Regions from separate parts of the Homo sapiens genome. Here region 1 is linked to region 2. Evidence: promoter capture Hi-C in human tissues and cell types (Jung and others, 2019). All regions are on one chromosome and are shown on one strand. The core of a region is centred on a gene start or on the middle of the fragment in contact, and the rest is flanking DNA. Distances in the headings are between cores, read along the strand shown.

What was found. Contacts are between HindIII fragments. The study calls those that stand out against the background at their distance.
Region 1: a fragment that was not itself captured here is called in contact with the fragment with the promoter of FUS in region 2 in 1 of the 25 tissues and cell types used here (thymus).

The regions. Positions count from the first base shown.
Region 1 is chr16:31,681,397-31,684,324 of GRCh38, reverse strand. It overlaps the pseudogene RBM22P12. Among named protein-coding and RNA genes, the nearest start is that of KRABD5, 30 kb to the left of the region's middle. The HindIII fragment of the contact is 6,049 bases long and covers 1-2,928 here.
Region 2 is chr16:31,178,478-31,181,502 of GRCh38, reverse strand. It overlaps FUS (FUS RNA binding protein), which reads right to left and starts at 1,364. Exons shown (of 15, transcript NM_004960.4): 1 at 1,276-1,364. The coding sequence starts at 1,288. RefSeq lists enhancers at 89-138, 239-298, 329-418, 1-604, 605-1,366 and 4 more and silencers at 649-698, 819-968, 1,609-1,678. The HindIII fragment of the contact is 19,228 bases long and covers 1-3,025 here.

The DNA of each region.
Region 1 (2,928 bases), core at 414-2,913, 500 kb before region 2:
GGCTCACGCCTGTAATCTCAGCACTTTGGGAGGCCGAGGTGGGCGGATCACCTGAGGTCAGGAATTCGAGGCCAGCCTGGCCAACACGAAACCCCGTCTCTACTAAAAATACAAAAATTAGCCAGGCGTGGTGGCGGGCACCTGTAATCCCAGCTATTCGGGAGACTGAGACAGGAGAATCACTTGAACCCGGGAGGCAGAGGTTGCAGTGAGCCGAGACTGTGCCATTGCACTCCAGCCTGGGCAACAGAGAGAGACTCCATCTCAAAAAAAAAAAAAAAAGAAAAGAAAAAAGAACTGAATTATACAACTCCCAGGCTATTGATTCAGAGAAATCTCCATACATTTTGGTGACAGAAGACACAGAAGTATTCTGTATTGATTGTCGAGTGAGGAAAAAGGAAAAACACTTTGGTTGATTTATTTTTTCTATATCTCTCTGAGTTAGAAAAGTGAAAAATAAGGTGGGGATGTGTATATATTAATGACAAAAGTTGTTCAAGAGAAAGATGTATCAAACTGGCATCTACAAAGGCGAAGTAAAATGGTTTTGATAAACTTATCCCAAGAAATGTGGAGAAACAGGTCTAAGAAACACATTCTATTGGAGGAGACCATCGTGTTTGTGAAAATCTCCCTGGGCAGTTCTCACACGCAGCCTGGGTTGAGATCTGCATCCCTAGAAGAAGAGGGTTATCTTTGTCATGCACTGTTCTGAGGAGAGGGGTGACCTTAGTGCTTCCTCATCTTGTTTTTTTTGAGACAGAGTCTCGCTCTGTCACCCAGGCTGGAGTGCAGTGGCACGACCTCAGCTCACTGCAACCTCTGCCTTCTGGGTTCAAGCGATTCTCCTGCCTCAGCCTCCTGAGTCGCTGGGACTACAGGCACATGCCACCACATCCCGCTAAGTTTTGTATTTTTAGCAGAGATGGGGTTTCACCATGTTGGCCAGGCTGGTCTCCAACTCCTGACCTTGTGATCCACCTGCCTCAGCCTCCCGAAGTGCTGGGATTATAGGCATGAGCCACCGCGCCCGGCCTGTCCTTACTCATCTTAATGTGCCACAGGGACGCGAAGACTTCAGTAACTGGGAGTCACACCCAGGTGCAGATTAGAACTCTCTGCTGAGGGTTTTACCATCCTGTGAGGTCTCATCCCAGAGATTCTGATAGGATGATCCAGCTTAGGGCCCTGGCATCAGCAGGCCTGAAGCTCCCAGGAGGCCCTGATGCACTGCCAGGGCTGGGCCACTGACCCCCAGAGGGCCCCAATGCCCAGGGAGCTTTTTCCCCTGAGGTAATGAGGAGAGCTTCCTGGACATCTTGGGGCCTGGGGCAGAGGACTAGGGTGTGACCGAGGAGCTCTTCTTGAGATAGACTCTGGAGGGATGTGTGGGTTCTATACTAATGTGTTTTTCAAATCTGTTTAAGGCTGTTTCTCTTCTTGAGGATATGTCAGGAAATGCTTGTGTTCAGCTTTTGAGCTTAGGGAAACTCGTCAAACCTAAGGAAAATTGTTTCCATAATTTTTGGGTAAATGAAAATAATTTCTGATCCCATGATACAAAGCTCCATGAAGTTCACGTTTTCATCTGACTCATAGAAATACAAAAACATTTTATTTTTGCCTTCTTTTTGGTGGGTACAGATTTCTTTGGTGATAAATGACAAAAAGAGAGGAAGGAAAATATCTGGGCTGTGATGGGGACTGGTCTCTACCTGTTTTTCTGAGGGTGTGGCTTCAAAAGAGTTAAATCACACACACCACTACAAAAATTAGGAATACCAATCCCTTTCTTTTAAGATAATAAAATGGAAAATACCCAATGGACACAAACATGTTCAAAAGGTTTTTTTTTCCTCTCAAGCCAATTTCCACCCTCATAAAAAGAGACAAATGATTATATGATTGGATGCTAACTCCATTGGACATTCTATAACTCACTCAGCTGCTCGTCCCCCATAGAGGTGAGAGGAACAGGCAGTATGTTTTATTAGTCATGTTATAGTAGTAAACATGTTTTAATGAAAGCTTATTTGATTTCCATTGATCCTTTGAATCCATATGAAAAAGCATGGCTGTCATTTCCTGCCCATATCTGACCACATTCAGATGCTCTGGGAACCATAAATAAAGAAAAAAAATATTTACTCCAATGTTCATTAATTGGGATTTTAAGTTGATGTTCCTTCCATAGAGCCTGAGGGTGGTGAAAATGTGACAGGGGCTGCTGTGGTTTCCAGAACGAGCTCCCATCCTCTGGGGGTCCTGAGATGGATTGATCCTGGAGTCCAACACAGGATCCAACACAATGGATTGATCCTAGAGTCCTCTCAAAAGGAAGGCAATGGTCCCATTGGATGGAACATGGGTGGCTGAAATCCTGGGGGGAGCAGCAGGACACACCAGGGGCTGGTGGCCAGGCAATGCTCACCACAGCTGGAGGAGCATGTGGGTGTATGTTGCTGTGGTTGGCAGATACATCTGTTGCTACTGCAGGAAGAGGAAGAGTTCCTGTTCCTGGCAGTGCTGGAATAGGCGTTAGCTGGATCCCAGCCTGCGGTTCTGTCCTTTTTCTTTTCCTCTGACTGCTTGGGATCCTCTCCATTTTCTACGGAGTCTGCAGCCCTTGACAATCAACTTATTAAAGGATTTCTCTGCAGCCACTTCTGTAGCCTGCCCTGTGGAAACCTGGACGAAAGCACACTACTTTCTGGTCTGCACAACAGTGATCACTCAGATCTTCAAATAACTAGAAATGATTATTTAGATCTGTCTCAGTAATGGCATCACCCAGATCACCAACACAGAGTCTGGTGATAACCTTGTCCTCTGGTGGATCTGGACAAGACATGGTGAAGCCTGCTTTAGAAGCTTATCTGCTCCAGAGTCATTGATTCCATATCAGTCTTTAATATTCTTATCAGC
Region 2 (3,025 bases), core at 115-2,614:
ATGCAACTGCTCGCCTTAGGAGGCGAAAGTCAACAGGTACTCGAGTCCCCAGCCCTGGGACTCCAGATGGTTCCGTTTTCTCACCTACCCTGCCTTCCCCCAGCGAACAAAAAGCAACAAAAGCGCTTTTGAAAAGCCCCACTTAAGATACACGAACAAGATCAACTCATCCTCCCAGCACAGGAAACGCGGCGCTTCCCCCGCAGGAAAAGGGAAAGAGGACCAGGAGAGGGTGTGGCCTCGGGCGGCCGTTCTTCTCCGTCCCTATCTCAGAAAAAAGAAATTTAGACCAGGCGTGGTTGGCTTACGTCTGTAATCCCGACACTTCGGGAGGCCCAGGCGGGCGGATCACCTGAGGTCAGCAGTTCGAGACCAGCCTGACCAACATGGTGAAACCCCGCCCCTACTAAGAAACACAAAAATTAGCCGGGCTGTGGTGGCGGGCGCCTATAATCCCAACTACTCAGGAGGCTGAGGCAGAAGAATCACTTGAACCCAGGAGGTGGACGTTGCAGTGATCTGAGATCGCACCACTGCACTCCAGCCTGGGCGACAGAGGAAGACCGTGTCTCCAAAAAAAAAAAGAAAGAAATTTAGGCGGGAAAAACTCTCGGGCCGTCCCCAAGTCCGTTGGTCGAACCCTGACCACCGCCGCCAAACCGTTAAGCTAGAGGGCGGCCCCGATCCCGAGCCTCCGCCCCCAGCCGCGTGGCAACCCAGGCGGGAACGGAGCGATCCCGCCCATTCGCGAAGGACCACTGAGGGACAAGGCTCACACCGGACGCGCGCCGCCGAGTCTTCCGCGAAGGGTCTCGCGACAGAAAGCTGAACCAACACGAGGCGGGGAAGGGGTACCCGCGCCGCGAAGGGGGAGGGGCCCGCAGAGCGCGTGCGCGCCGCGAGTGCCCGGATGCAGCACTGCGACAAAGCGGGCTCGAGCGCGGGGCCGGGAGTTGGGGGAGGCGAGGCCACGGAGAATGGGCGTTTTCCACCCTCACCTGACGCTTCAAACCCCTAAGAAGCGTCCCTCCCAACGCCCACCCCAAGCAAACGGACTGCAAAGAAAAGACTTCCCGCCCCGCGCGCGAGGGCCAGAGGAGCGAAACAAAATGGCGACACCAGCCTCCTCCAGTTACTCTTCTCCGCGGCTTCCCGCCACAGGGGCGCCAAAAAATCCCACACGGGATCGCCGCCCCGGTCCCACTGAAAACGAAAAGCCCAGCTGGGAGGCCTCGGCCGGGTGCGCCGCCGCCGTCGCCTCGCGCCCTTACCTACCGTTTGAGGCCATGTCCGCGCACGCGCGCACAGGCAAGCAAGCAACGAAGTTCCAACACCGCTGAGTACCGACGCCTGGAGGACTGAGCAGCCCCGCCTCCTGCGTCGAAGCTTAAGTACGCTCCGCCGCCTACGCACCGCGCAGGCGCGCACCAAACGCGGAAGAGCAGGGGGAGGCAGGAACGCACTCCGCCCCCTTCGTAGGGCAGGTAGAGGGTCCGAGCAGGCAGAAGGGAAACAAGTTAACTAGAATCATGCGAATACTATACATAATCATATTTTTTGAGGAAGAACCCCTCTCTCCTCGGCAGGACTAGCCCACGATCTATCTCCACCCCCATGAAGGCACAGTGGTACGGCCTGAGTGCCCGCTGGGGGCGGGGCGAGGGGGCGGTCCCGGCGGCTGGGGACGAAACTGGAGTCACAGCCGGGAGTAGCGGGGTGGAACCGAGATTCCTGTGGCCGGGCCCCTTCGCTGGGCCCCGCTTTCACCCAGGATGGCGAGCTCCTGCCCTCCACCCTCTTGCCGCTGTATGGGGCGCCTCGTCCCCGCGGCTCCAGCCTCCCTCGTCGGCAGCACACTGGCCCTCCCTCTCCTGCGCCCTGAGGTTGACTTCGTCGTCTTTCAGGGTTGCCTTGCCTTTCGGCCTTTCTGGGGTTCGGGGATTATGACGTTTGACCTGAAAGACAGCAGGGATTTCGGCCGGGACCCCTGGGCCCCGGGCTCGTCCAGCACTGGGCTCTCACCCGGATCCTCATGGCTTTGCCCCTGGGGAGCCACGGGGCGGAACAGCCCAGGCCATCCTTGGGACCAGAGAGGGTTGACCTCAGATGTACGGTACCCAGCCTTTTCTCAGGGACCTCCTTTTTATTTTTCTGAAGCCCTACCAGGGCGATCCCAGAAATAAAACGTGTACAAGGCTTAAGTGGTTTCAAAATGCACAGATAATTTCCTTGTCATCAGTCTTACGAAGGAAGTAAAGATACCTCCGTTTTCTAGATAAGGAAAGTGAGACTCAGAGACCCAAGTAATTGTGCCTGATTACAGGGCAGCTAAGAGGAGTCGTGATTCGAATCCAGGTCTTGTAACTGCAAAACACTCCTCTTTTTGGTGGCATGAATGCTAGAGTGTTTGGTCGCCTTTTCACTTCCTGTGAGAGCAAAAGCAAAAAGAAACATTCAAATTAACTTGCAACTTGCACTTTCATCAGCCTTGCCTGGAGAAGGCAATTTGAAACTACTGAATAAAACAAGACAAAAGACGTTAATTCCTGATACATAGGCATGCAGGTTTTCCTTCCCAACTTAACCTTTCAGCGGGATTTCAGAAGGTCCTTTGAGGGTTGGACACGTCTTTCTAGAGAAACAATGAGGGCCATGCCCTGGGCCCGCCCACAAATTAAGCCCCACTAAGCCCTTGACTTCAGCCCTAAAGGCCCTGAATATGCCAATATCCACCCCACCGCCTTTGGAAGGAGAGTTCAACTCTCCAGTGAGAGCAAAAGAAAGGAAGTCCACCCTTATTCATGCATTAAGTCACAAATATTTATTTAGCACCTAGTATGTTCCAGGCACTGTTCTGGGCACTGGGTATGCATTCGTGTACAAAGCAGATGAAGTTAACATTTAATAATAAAGCTGACCGGGTGCGGTGGCTCACGCCTGTAATACCAGCACTTTGGGAGGCCGAGGCGTGTGGATCACGAGGTCAGGAGTTCGAGACCAGCCTGGCCAACATGGTGAAACCCCG